Linked DNA regions of Homo sapiens: all the other regions are linked to region 1. Evidence: promoter capture Hi-C in 16 types of primary human blood cells and fetal thymus (Javierre and others, 2016). All regions are on one chromosome and are shown on one strand. The core of a region is centred on a gene start or on the middle of the fragment in contact, and the rest is flanking DNA. Distances in the headings are between cores, read along the strand shown.

What was found. Contacts are between HindIII fragments. The CHiCAGO score rates a contact against its expected background, and 5 or more counts as called.
Region 2: a fragment that was not itself captured here is called in contact with the fragment with the promoter of TXNIP in region 1 in 3 of 17 cell types (naive CD4 T cells, endothelial precursors and erythroblasts); the score reaches 5.3 in naive CD4 T cells.
Region 3: a contact is called between a fragment that was not itself captured here and the fragment with the promoter of TXNIP in region 1, in 3 of 17 cell types (endothelial precursors, naive CD4 T cells and activated CD4 T cells). The highest score is 5.8, in endothelial precursors.

The regions. Positions count from the first base shown.
Region 1 is chr1:145,995,306-145,999,814 of GRCh38, reverse strand. It overlaps TXNIP (thioredoxin interacting protein), which reads left to right and starts at 3,236. Exons shown (of 8, transcript NM_006472.6): 1 at 3,236-3,798; 2 at 4,339-4,411. The coding sequence starts at 3,549. The HindIII fragment of the contact is 13,533 bases long and covers 1-4,509 here.
Region 2 is chr1:145,803,557-145,808,061 of GRCh38, reverse strand. The region is part of intron 1 of RNF115 (ring finger protein 115); the gene reads left to right. Among named protein-coding and RNA genes, the nearest start is that of RNF115, 18 kb to the left of the region's middle. RefSeq lists an enhancer at 2,570-3,078. The HindIII fragment of the contact is 2,887 bases long and covers 1,335-4,221 here.
Region 3 is chr1:145,779,212-145,784,026 of GRCh38, reverse strand. All of the region lies in intron 3 of RNF115 (ring finger protein 115), which reads left to right. Among named protein-coding and RNA genes, the nearest start is that of RNF115, 42 kb to the left of the region's middle. The HindIII fragment of the contact is 2,453 bases long and covers 583-3,035 here.

The DNA of each region.
Region 1 (4,509 bases), core at 1,987-4,486:
ATCACCACTTGGTTTCCTGTTGGCACTGGGACTGAAGAGGGTAGAGAAGGGGCAGATAAAGATGATCCAACTTGCAAAACTCTTTGACTGTGCCCTACTTTGCTGTTCCTCCTTGGCCCACCCCTTTTCCCAAACCTCACAAGTGTTTTTATACCCTGATTTTAGGACAAGAGTTTACAAAATTTCTTTCTTCTTAGACCCAAGAACTGGGAAAGGAGAATCGGGGCAGGTTTTTATCAGAATACCAGGTTACAAGGTGAAAGGTCGTAAACAACCGTGTCCAGGAGGACTCCACTTCAGAACATGCCTTGGCTACAGGCCTGGTAGGCAGCAGCTGCTGCCAAAGCTAAATAATTTTTTGGCATTTAAAGGAACCCAGGCATAACACAGAGCAACGTAGTCTGTAGTGAGCTCTGCAAATGGGAAGATACAAGGAAACCAGAGCCCAGAAGAGAAACTTAGAACGAGAGAATTGTCATAGGATTTTTTAAAACTCAGCAATTCAGTACTTCAGAGATGTGCCCACATAAATATCAAATAAATTGAAAGGGAAAAGGGTGCCTATAATCCCAGCACTTTGGGAGGCCAGGTAGGCGGACTGCTTGAGCAGGAGTTTGAGACCAGCCTGGCCAACATGGTGAAACCCCATCTCTACCAAAAATACAAAAATTACCTAGGCGTGGTGGAGCACATCTGTAGTCCCGGCTACTCGGGAGGCTGAGGTGGGAGAATCACTTGAGCCTGGGATGTGGAGGTTTCAGTGAGCCAAGTGACACTGCATTCCAACCTGGTTGAGAGTTGGATGTCTTAAGATGTCCCATATTACCACCACCCTGATCCATCACTAGCCACCATCTTTCCTATTCCCTCAAAATGTATGTAGTTAAGATTTAACAATATTTAACAATATTGACTATGTAGTTAACAATATTGATTCATATATTTGTCAGCATTTTGATGTTTGATAGTTACACTTTCATACCCATCAAACTAAACGTTCTCCCAGAAGCCACAATTTTGAACTTTTAAAATTACTTCAGTCAGGCCAGGCACGGTGGCTCACGCCTGTAATCCCAGCACTTTGGGAGGCCAAGGCGGGTGGATCACCTGAGGTCAGGAGGAGTTCAAGACCATCTTGGGCAACATGGTGAAACCCCATCTCTACTAAAAATACAAAAATTAGCTGGGCGTGGTGATGCATGCCTGTAATGCCAGGTACTCAGGAGGCTGAGGCGGAGAATCGCTCTAACCCAGGAGGCAGAGGTTGCAGTGAGCTGGGGTCAGGCCACTGCACTCCAGCCTAGGCAACAGAGCAAGATTCCACCTTAAAAAAAAAATTACTTCAGTCAGAGTTCCACCTCCTCTGCTCCCAGTAACTCAATCAATATTGTTAACCAACTGAAAACACCTCAAGCCTAGCTGGTTAAGTTTCTAGAACAGGGTGCCGCCTCAAACACACCCTAAGGATCAACATGTTCCTGGGGTTTAATGCATGTGTGTGTTTTCGAAGAGACTCATGATGCCTATTCTTGAGCTTGCTTAATATTGGGGTTGAGTTGTAACTCTCGTTAGCCTTAGAGTGTCAATCCAGCTAGGCTGTCTGAGGAAGGAAGAAGGCTCTTTAACAGCAATGAATATTGTTTTTTTTTTGCTGATTGGGTAGGGTTTCAATATACTTGAATGCTTCTTAATTACCTCCCCATCTCAATCTTGGGACATTATCTTCCTCTTTCCAGCACAAGGAATTAAATAATAATCTTCTGATACCCCAGCACAGATATAGGAAGGGTCTATGAATCAAATAAAAGGAGGAAGAATCCCTGCACTTTTGCATACAGGTTTTTCCTATTACATTTAAGAGTAAGTTCTCAGTACTCAGCTCCTAAAGCATCTCACAGCCAGCAGGGGAAAATCCATCTGACAGCTGGCCAAACGAAACCAACAAAGAATGAAGAGAGAGGGTAGGGTCTCTTCTGGCTTGAATTTATAGTGCTCTGTTGACCGATCTTTCTTCTCTTTTCCTTCTTACTGTTTTCTAAACCGTTTAGGGAAAAACCTTTGAAAATAGTTTTTAAAATTGTTCCTTCAAACAGGTGTGTGGCCATCTCTCCACTGAAAATTTGGATATAAACAAGAGGACTTTCTCACTTTTAACCAGATTTATGGATGTACATTTGATTTAGTGAGTTGGAAGAGGGGATGGAGACAAGAAAGAGTGAACATAACTGGAAAAAAGTGAAAAGAGTGAAGCATCCTTTTTTTCCCGCTTTTCCTTTTCCTCCAGAAGCAGGTAGGAAGTGGGAGATAATGAGCGCCTGGACACACCTCACTAAAGAGGTAATGAGGTAAATGGGGAACACAGACAAAGTGTTCCCCAACTTTGCAGGTAGAAATTGAAGAGATGACAGGATAAGCAACAGGATGTAAACACGCCCCTCCTATTTCCGTTCCACAGAACAGAGAGAACAGAAGAGAGGGTACAAGCTGGGGGTGGGTGACGAACAGCACAGGCACGCAGCCCCCAGCCCTAGCCCCAAGGGATTGGAACGGGAAGGAGAAGACATCGGTCCTACACACACAATGAGGCCTGAAAGTTCTCCTTTCCCTCAGAGACGGTGGTGTTTTTTATACTTAATAGGGATGCGGGGCAAGAGAAGGACAAAGGGCTGTTCCTGAACAGTAACACCAAGCATTCTGCGCTCCACAGCCCCAAACCTGAAAGTATTCTTGGAGCTATGGGATTTTCACACACTTGCTATTTATGAGCCAGGAATAACGACAGGCTCTAAAGTAACTGCACTGGCTAAGACTAGGCATGAAATTCCCTCATAAGCACATTTTCCTTTTACCTCAAAACACCGCTCTCAGACCAGAAACGTCCACACCCGCCCTCCGATGGCCTGTCGCCCTGGCTAGGTTTTAGGGTCAGTGGGATCCTCCTTCCACTGGACCCGGGAGAAGACGCTCAACAGCCCCCTCCTTCCCCTCCTTCCTCTCCTTCCTCTCCTTCCCCCCTCCCTGCGCCGCTCCAGAGCGCAACAACCATTTTCCCAGCCAGGAGCACACCGTGTCCACGCGCCACAGCGATCTCACTGATTGGTCGGGCTCCTGGTAAACAAGGACCGGGCAGCCAATGGGAGGGATGTGCACGAGGGCAGCACGAGCCTCCGGGCCAGCGCTCGCGTGGCTCTTCTGGCCCGGGCTACTATATAGAGACGTTTCCGCCTCCTGCTTGAAACTAACCCCTCTTTTTCTCCAAAGGAGTGCTTGTGGAGATCGGATCTTTTCTCCAGCAATTGGGGGAAAGAAGGCTTTTTCTCTGAATTAGCTTAGTGTAACCAGCGGCGTATATTTTTTAGGCGCCTTTTCGAAAACCTAGTAGTTAATATTCATTTGTTTAAATCTTATTTTATTTTTAAGCTCAAACTGCTTAAGAATACCTTAATTCCTTAAAGTGAAATAATTTTTTGCAAAGGGGTTTCCTCGATTTGGAGCTTTTTTTTTCTTCCACCGTCATTTCTAACTCTTAAAACCAACTCAGTTCCATCATGGTGATGTTCAAGAAGATCAAGTCTTTTGAGGTGGTCTTTAACGACCCTGAAAAGGTGTACGGCAGTGGCGAGAAGGTGGCTGGCCGGGTGATAGTGGAGGTGTGTGAAGTTACTCGTGTCAAAGCCGTTAGGATCCTGGCTTGCGGAGTGGCTAAAGTGCTTTGGATGCAGGGATCCCAGCAGTGCAAACAGACTTCGGAGTACCTGCGCTATGAAGACACGCTTCTTCTGGAAGACCAGCCAACAGGTAAGCGGCCCAATTCATTGTTGGAGGGTGAAAGCTGATTAGAGAAGAGAATTGAATACACAAAACCTGTACGAAATGTTTTAAGTTGCTCAGTTTGAGTGGTTTGAATTACGTGTTGTTGCTTCCTTTTTTCTGTTTTAATTTGCAGACATTCTCCTCCCCCCCCAAAAAAAAGGGTGATTTGTACAATTTTTTATGGTGCTGTGTCCTAAAGGGGATCCTGAGGGGCGTTGCCTCGGGTAGTTAAAGTCTTATGTGTGCATAAGTTGCTTATTCTTTGTCTACTTCCTATTTGAGATGTTAGTAGAGAACTGTCCTGGGTGAATCTTTCAGTATTGCAGGGCTTGGCAACTTGCTGCCCGACAAAATACATCAGAATTTCTCTTTAAGAACAATATGGGATGGATTAAAAAATATATATATGGGATGAAATTGGGGGTACTTCAATACCTTGCATGCCACCCAAGCATTCCTTATCACACAGATGCATTTTAAGTGTAACAGCAAGCCTAATGGCTACTCGATTTTCTTTCCCTTCAGGTGAGAATGAGATGGTGATCATGAGACCTGGAAACAAATATGAGTACAAGTTCGGCTTTGAGCTTCCTCAGGGGTAAATATCAGCTAAATGCATCTTTGAACTTTTCTGTCTAAAATATCTTGCCCTCCTTTGATCACTTACTGTTCTTGGAGAGCGTTTTAAAATTTTCA
Region 2 (4,505 bases), core at 1,529-4,028, 190 kb after region 1:
TATATGCAAGAGAATAGTGTTTGGCCATAAGAAAGAATCAAGTCGTGCCATTTGTAGCAACATGGATGGAACTGGAGGTTATTATGTTAAGTGAGATAAGCCAGGCACAGAAAGACAAATATTGCATATTCCCACTCATATGTGGGAGCTAAAAAAGTTGATTTCATGCAGGTAGAGAATGGAATGATATCTGAGGCTGGGAAGGGTGTGTGAAGGCAGAGGGGGTGAGGTATGTGGATAAAGAGAGGTTGATTAATGGGTATAAACATAAAATTAGATAGAAGGAATAAGTTCTGATGTTTGATAGCAGAGTAGAGTGACTAAAGTTAACAACAATGTATATTTCAAAATAGCTAGATGAGAGGATTTCAGATATTCCCAGCACATAGAAATGATAAATATTTAAGGTGATAGATGCCCTAAATGCCCTGACTTGATATGCATGTACCAAAATATCACATGTACCCCATGAATATTTACAGATATCTGTAGCAATAAAAAAGTGGTTGAAAGTAATATTAATAAGTGAGAATCATAAAAATGTTTAATTTGCTGAATTTTTCAACCTTAGTTTACTAATCTTTAAAATTGTTGGTTTATTATTCTCTATCAAGTGCAGGTGCTGATTGAATGGATAGGGAGAAGTTGTTTTAATATTATATTAGCATCCTATTTTAATATGCAATCAGTATTAGATGGACAGATTCAGAGTTCCTAAGGTTTTTAATAAGATTAGCAGTATAATATAGGTCTATCTCGTCCTGTAACACTAGTACTGTAAAAGGTTTCCAGAAGTATATCTATTTCTATTCCTGAGTGTGATTGATTCTGGATATTTTCTTTGAGGACACACACATATACTCTATTTGTGAAGTACAGCACTTCGAATTTAGTTTGTATTTGATAATAACATTAAAATAACAGGCACTAGATTATGCAACAGTAACAGCAGTCCATTTTTATTTATTCAGTAACTGTATTGGTACCTTCTATATTCCAGGAGCTGTTCTAGGTACTTGGGCTGTTGTCTTAGTCCATTTTGTGTTGCTTATAAAGGAATAACTGAAGCTGGGTAACTTAAAAGAGGTTTACGGCTGGGCGCAGTGGCGCGTACCTGTAATCCCAGCTGCTCAGGAGGCTGAGGCAGGAGAATTCTTGAACCCAGGAGGTGGAGGTTGCAGTGAGCCGAGATCCTGCCACTGCACTCCAGCCTGGGCGACAGAAAAAGACTCTGTCTCAACAAAAAATAAACAAAAGAAGTTTACTTAGCTCATTACTCTGCAGACAGTACAAGAAGCTTCGCACCAGCATCTGCTTCTGGTGGGACCTCAGGAAGCTTCCAGTCATAGTGGAAGGCCAAGGGGAAGCAGGTGTTCCGCAAGGCAAGAGAGAAAGGGGAGGGGTACCACACTCTTTTAAACAACCACATCACTCATTCCTGTAAGGACTGCACCAAGACATTCATGAGGGATCTGCGTCCATGACCTAAATACCTCCCACTAGGCCCTACCTCCAACATTGGGGATCAAATTTCAACATGAGATTTAGAGGGGACACATATCCAAACTATATCAGCTATATTCAGGAAGAAGTACGGAGATTAATAAAATGTTGAGAAAAATGGGTAGTAAAATCAGGATTTAAATATTTTCTTCTCCTTTTGGCTTTCTTTAAATTTAATATTTATTTATTTATTTATCTATTTTATTTTTTTGAGATGGAGTCTTCCTCTGTTGCCCAGGCTGGAGTGCAGTGGCACGATCTCAGCTCACTGAAACCTCTGCCTCCCGGGTTCAAGCGATTCTCCTGCTTCAGCTTCCTGAGCAGCTGGGATTACAGGTGTGGGCCACAATGCCCAGCTAATTTTTGTATTTTTAGTAGAGACGGGGTTTCACCCTGTTGGCCAGGCTGGTCTTGAACACCTGACCTCAAGTGATCCACCCGCCTCAGCTTCCCAAAGTGCTGGGATTATAGTCGTGAGCCACTGTGCCTGGACTTAAATTTAATATCTCATTTAAACATTAAATTAATGTAGCTATCTCTGGATTAGAGCAAATGCCTTTTTGCCCATTTCAGGTCTGAGATATTGTTGTTGTAAGAACTAACAACTAGCCCTCATTTTGCAACTGTTGTCAGCCCTTTTTATAGCTGATTTTATTTATTTTAATTAATTATATATAAATTGTATTCTAGTACTGTGGGAAAAAATGTTTTATTTTAGCTGTTAAATTATTGAACCTTTCAGGGTCTTCATTTTCCTTGTCTGTAAAATGAGATAGTTGTGTTTATTCCTGCTAGCTACGGTTTAGTGATTTGAGCTCTGGGGTATTTTTGGATTTTGTGTAAGGGAATTTTCTTCTGTAGTTTTTCCACATAGATCATGTGGTAGCCACTGACATACTAGGATTTAAATTTTACCCCTGAAATAATCTCCTTTATGAGTTACAAACTATTAGTGCATATTTTATCTTATAATGATGAACAGTCTTGAAAATGTTAGGATGGAGGACATAATGCAAAGCAATGTCAAAATTTTCCTTTTATAAATCAAACAAAGCAATAATGCTGGTAATGTTGACTGAATAAATTAAAACTTCATTTTTTTTTTTTTTGAAGACTTGGGATTCAGTAACAGGTAAACTTGGCCTGGATAATTTTTTTTTTAGAACTATTTTATAAATATTCTTTGTTTGCTTTGAGGTTGCATTTACATTGCTTTTGTTTTTAAAGTTGTATTCAGTTAATTAATTGTTTTCTTAATCCAATGGTCAGTGGCTACTGTTAACAACCAGTTTGTATGTGATCTTTCCTGACTTGAATGTTCCTGCTGTGAGTTGAATTAGATCATACTTGTGAAATTCTCCTATGTCATTGATGGCAAGTCAATGCTAGAATTCCAAGTATTACTTTTATTTCGATGAAGAGTTCTCAGTCAGAAGCTCTGATTGCTCTGTGGGTACATGGTAAAATAGTACTTTTTAAAATGAAATGGTGATGGTAGATGGTTTTTTTTTTAATATTTATACTTGGCAAAATAAAAAAGCTGGCAATCCTTGCAGGTTTCCAATTTTTTAATTTGAAAATTGAACTGCTTTATGGGAACCAAAAGTATGGAAATCAGTAGTCTAGATCAGTGTTTCTCAAACTGTGTGCCAGGAGATTTAATAGGAGTTCAGAATTATGGTAAAATATTGCATACCAAATTGTTGCCCTATCTCCATCCCTCCACTTCCCCTTTTATGACATGGAATGGCATATTAATGGTTCTGAAAAATCATTCATTAAAGCAGCATGTTTGATATTTAGTTCAGGCTTTTCTAAATCTAGTTTTTCTCCCCACCTTAACCACTGGTTAATATCCTGTGAAACGTGGTTTGAGAAATATTCCATATCCAAATCACTCAGAATAATTTATTAGAACCTACAGTTTGTTGAGAATTTAGTATATTCCCGGTACTATCTCATTTAGATGAAGTGAGCTACCCAGTGTCACACAACTGGTTGGTTATTCTGTGTTTCCAGTCTGATTGTGTGTGTGTGTGTGTGTGTGTGTGTGTGTGTGCATGCATGCATGCATTTAAGGTGGACAACATGATGTTTTGAAGTGCACATACATAGTTGAAATGATTACCAGTCCAGCTTTGTTTTGCTTCACATTCATTACTCTAACCACTTAGGCTGTTCTGAAGCATTGCTTAGTTCTCATTTCGAGGCTAAGTACCTAAGACTAGGATATTCAGAAGTTCATTTTATATGCCTTTTGACTTCCCTAACTACTAGAATATGGTTAAGGGAAGTATGATTTTATCAGAGCATATACTTTGTAGGTGATTTTAGTGACTTTTAATCCCAGGTTATTTTTCTTTCTACACAATGCTTGGAATGTAGAGCTTAGAATTTTTGCTGAGTGAATGAATGTTGTCACTTTGTCAAAGAAGATTCTGTCAGCCTAAGCTAAAAGCAAGAAAGTACATTTTACTTCTAAACTATTGTGGTACACATCAGAGCTAAACATCTATACTTTTTGGCTCATTTATCATTTTATATTTATGCCACTGGGTTGTTCCCTTTCTTGCTGCCTTTAGTGTGAGCAAGCCAAAAACACTATAAATCTTTTCTGCTATATTATGTTGTCTGAGGTTAATTAACATTTTCTCTGGTAATTCTTGTAGTCCTGTGTGTTTCTTCCTTAGAAAATTTGGCTTCTTGACCATCTGATCAAGCTTGTATCAAGTAACACTTTGTCTTGTGACCTGATTTTCTGCCTTGGTACACAATGAGCTAAAGAAGCTTGGTTGATTATGCACTCCTGTTTGGAATCTGTAATGTCAGTGTTCAATCATGGCCTGAATTAAGGAACAAAATGATAAAGGTGGCTGGGTGCGGTGGCTCACGCCTCTAATCCCAGCACTTTGGGAGGCTGAGGCAGGTGGATCACTTGAGGTCAGGAGTTCAACACCAGCCTGGCCAATGTGGTGAAACCCATCTCTACTAAAAATACAAAA
Region 3 (4,815 bases), core at 560-3,059, 210 kb after region 1:
GGTCTGTAAATAATTTCTATATCTTCTTATAATGTGGCGTCCATATTTTTTGGGAAAAACAAATCTTAACTGTGATTTGAAAACAGGGCATTAGTCTTCATTCTTGAATACCATTTTATATTGAATCCAGAGTAATTTTCTTTTTTCACTTCGTCCATTGACCTAAAGTCTCTTTAGTTGTGTTTTTTTTTTTTAAAAAAAGAAACCATTGTAACTGTTCTTAAGTGTATAATTCAGTGGCATTAATACTCTTTGTTTTTAATCATTTAGAGACTACAACCCAGAAGGTACCAGTCAGCCTATAAAAAACACTGACGTTTTTCTTTTGCTTGTTTGTATGTGTACCCTATATTGCCATACAACTTGTTCAGCTCTAGAAAGCTGACAGATGCTAAAAGGAAGAAATAAGTTAAATCCCATAATCAGGATTTCTTTATGTTTTAGGATCACATTAGCCTTTTCCAGAGATAGCCGAAGTGCCTAGAGAGATAGCAAAATATTTCACTGTTTTGTATGTAAATTGAAATTGTACTAGTAGTATATTTGAAAAGTGATATTTAATAAGAAGCCTGTAAAACCCTAAGCTTCTCTCCCTTATTATTTGAAAATTATTTTAAGACCTGTAGCCCCCACATTTTGATGTTGTTAGATTTATCAACATTGTCTGGGTAATGGTCCTGTTCTATTTAGGGTGGTTTTTCTGCTTATGGTCTGTGCTACTTCTTAATATACAGTATTAAGAGTTTTGGTTAACTCTGAACTGCCCGGGTTGATTAGAGTGATTCCAGACAGATCGTGTTTTGAACTTGCATTTTTATTTTCCCATTTTAATGGATTGAAAAACATTATTTAATATGTGTTCTGGGCCAGGCACAGTGGCTCACGCCTGTAATCGCAACACTTTGGGAGGCCGAGGTGAGCAGATCACCTGAGGTCTGGAGTTCGAGACCAGCCTAGCCAACATGGTGAAACCCCATCTCTACTAAAAATACAATAAATTAGCTGGGCATGGTGGCATGAGCCTGTAATCCTAGCTACATGGTAGGCTGAGACACGAGAATCGCTTGAACCCGGGAGGCAGAGGTTGAGGTGAGTCGAGATCGCACTACTGCACTCCAGCCTGGGTGACAGAGCGAGACTCCATCTCAAAAAAGTAAAATACAATAAAATGTATTCTGTTTGCCAGTCCTGGAAGCCTTTATGATTTCAGTATTCTTTCCTCTTGTGTGTGCTATTTGTGATAACACAGATTGTCACTTACTGATTAGGCATATGCAGAAGAAGAAATTTCATTTGATTTTTCTTTAGTGTTCTCTTTTAGGTAATGGAAATAGATCGGTCTGCCAATTTTGTAGGTATGACTCACCAGAAAGAGATGCATTGAGTAAGAAGAAAAACAAATATATGTAGTCAGTTTCCTAACTTTAGTAATGCTAAATCCAACACTGATGGCATGAGTTATCCTTCAGGTGTTAAAGTATTTTTGCTGATTCATAGCTTGTAACTTCGTGTTCTTTAGATGTTGCCAGGGATTTTTAATAAATTAGCTAAGAAGTGTGTGTGTGTGTGTTTTTAAGAGATGGGGCCTTATTGCCCAGGCTGGACTCGAACTTCTGAGCTTAAGTGATCCTCCCACCTCAGGTTCCCTAGTAGCTGGGATTACAGGCAGGTGTCACTGTGCCTGGCTGAAAGTATATACTGAATGTTTCATACATAGCACTCTCCTAGAAATAGGGGCAGGAAGTAAATGTCATGGTTGCCTTGCCTGAAAGGAACTTAATTTTGTTGTGGAGCAAGTGCAAACACTTAAGAAAACAAGGAAGGCTGGGCGTGGTGGCTTACGCTTGTAATCCCAGCACTTTGGGAGGCCGAGGCAGGTGGATCACGGGAGGTTGGGAGTTCAAGACCAGCCTGGCCAACATGGTGAAACCCCATCTCTACTAAAAAATACAAAAAATTAGCCAGGCATGGTGGTGGGCGCCTGTAATTCCAGCTACTTGGGAGGCTGAGGCAGGAGAATTGCTTGAACCCAGAAGGCGGAGGTTGCAGTGAGCGGAGATTGCACCACTGGACTCCAGCCTGGGCAATAAGAGTGAAACTCTTATCTCCAAAAAAAAAAAAAAAAAGGAAAAGTGTACAGAGTATAATAAATTTATTCTGGGGTATATGTAACAAGTATAGTAGAAGGAAGAGTTAAGGTGGGCCAGGGTCTTGAGGAGAGGTCATATAACAGTGATTAAGAACACAGCCTCTGGAACCAGATTGCCTGAGCTCAAATCCTGTGTCTGCCACTTATTGGCTGTGTAATCTGGGCAAAGTTACTTAGAATCTCTCAGTGCCTCTCTTGTCCTTGTCTGTAAATTGGGAAATAATCATCCTTCCCTCATAGGGATGTTACGAGGATTAAATGAGTTAATACATGCTAGGTGTGTAGACCGCAATGTGCCTACCATCTAGTGAGTGCTTGATACATTTTAGCCATTATTAAGACTTCATAGTGAAGTTAGAACTTGCACTGGAGCCTTGAAGAGTAGGTGGAATTTAGATAAGCAAAGATGTGAAAATTATCTCAAAATAGTATTCATAAGCTATAAGGTTTTATGCTCATGTCCCTGAAGAAAAAACTTAGAAATAAAATTATATATAGAAACTAAAGTTGTTTTTCTTTTCCCTGCTTTAGTTGGTAATTTCGGCAAAGACTTATGCTCAGTTTTGCTCTATTTTTCTTTAGCTGGAGCTGCTTGTACAATGAAGTGGTTATTTTCTATAAGTAACATTTACTGATAGCTGAATTCTTAAAATACTGTCTATATTAGAAGAGGCTTATTCCAAGAAAATTTCTGTCAAAATCAGTATTGACTTTTTTTTAAAAAAATGAGACTGGGGTAGGAGATAAGAGACTAATGGGATAGAGAGAAGGTAGGGGAGGGTTGCCAGTTACATGGGAGCAGTGTTTGAATAATGTGTGAGGGCCGGTGGAGAGTGAATCTGAAAATATTGCTAGCAGTTTGTAGAGAGAAGACATTGCTATACTAAGCTTCCTGGTGGTAATCTAGAAAGTGAGCCCCATAGCTACCTGAAGGTTTCATTGATTACTTGCAAACTTCTGACCACGACCTGGTGCCAGTGGGTCATCTGATCTTAGAGTCTCAGCTTACCTGAATGGATTGCTTCAGTGCAAGAGTGGCTCTGGCTGCTGCCTCAGATTGGGAGAAAATAAGATACATGGCTTTCTGGAAAAAAGAGCTCTCAGGTATGCACAAGAGGGCAGGGTGCTCTGAGCTGATTTATATGTATTTAAATAAAATTTGTTATTTGTTTTTGTTACATAAGCAGCATTATAGTGGCAGTAAAAAATTTAAAAATATGTATCTTGAGTTTCACTTTTTTTTTTTTTTTTTTTTTTTTAGACGGAGTCTCACTCTGTTGCCCAGGCTGGGGTGCAGTGGCGCAATCTCGGCTCACTGCAACCTCCGCCTTCTGGGTTCAAGCGATTATCCTGCCTCAGCCTCCTGAGTAGCTGGGACCACAGGCGCGTGCCACCACGCCTGGCTAATTTTTTATATTTTTAGTAGAGACGGGGTTTCACCGTGTTAGCCAGGATGGTCTCGATCTCCTGACCTCGTGATCTGCCCGCCTTGGTCTCCCAAAGTGCTGGGATTACAGGTGTGAGCCACTGCGCCCGGCCGAGTTTCACTATTCTAAGAGCTCCCTTTTCCATACATTTCCTTTCAGATTTTGTCCTAAGGCATAGTTACTGAAAAATAACAACCTTAAGCTCTTTTTTGTTTGTTTTTTTGAGACGGGGTCTCGCTCTGTTGCCCAGGCTGGAGTGCAATGGCACGATCTCGGCTTACTGCAACCTCTGCCTCCTGGGTTCTAGTGATTCTCTCACCTCAGCCTCCCGAGTAGCTTGGATTACAGGCCCCCGCCGCCAAACCTGGCTAATTTTTGTATTTTTGGTAGAGATGGGGTTTTACCACGTTGGCCAGGCTGGTCTGGAACTCCTGACCTCAGGTCATCCTCTCGTCTTGGCCTCCCAGAGTGCTGGGATTACGGGCTTGAGTCACCGTGCCTGGGCCTAAGCTTTTTTAAAAATGAGAAATATTGGCCGGGCATGCAGATCACTTGAGGTCAGGAGTTCCAGACCAGCCTGTCCAATGTGATGAAACCCTGTCTTTACTAAAAATACAAAAATTAGCCAGGTGTGGTGGCGGGCACCTGTAATCCCAGCTATTCGGGAGGCTGAGGCAGGAGAATCGCTTGAACCCAGGAGGCGGAGGTTGCAGTGGGCTGAGATTGTGCCACTGCACTCTAGCCTGAGCAACAGAGCGAGACTCCGTTTCAAAAAATAAAGAAATATCCCATATTGTCATTACTTGATTATAGCTTTATGCATTTTTTAGCAAAATACTTCTCATTTCTCATGTGCATACCTCATAACTGTTTAGAGTTGCTGTCATAAGAGTATATTGTATTTCTGCCTCTAAAAATTTACTTGGTATTATGTCATAAACCTTTTACTTGTCTCTCTATAGTTATTAGAATTATAGCTGGACGTGGTGGCTCATGCCTGTAATCCTAGCACTTTGGGAGGGCGGAGGCAGGCGGATTGTTTGAGCCCAGGAGTTCAAGACCAGCCTGGGCAACATGGTAAAACCCTGTGTCTACAAAAATAAAAATAAAAAGCCAGGTGTAGTGGCATATGTGTGTAGTCCCAGCTACTCGAGAAGCGGAGGTGGGAGAATCTCTTGAGCCTGGGAGGCAGAGGTTGCAGTGAGCTGAGCTCGTGCCACTGCACCCCAGCCTGGGTGT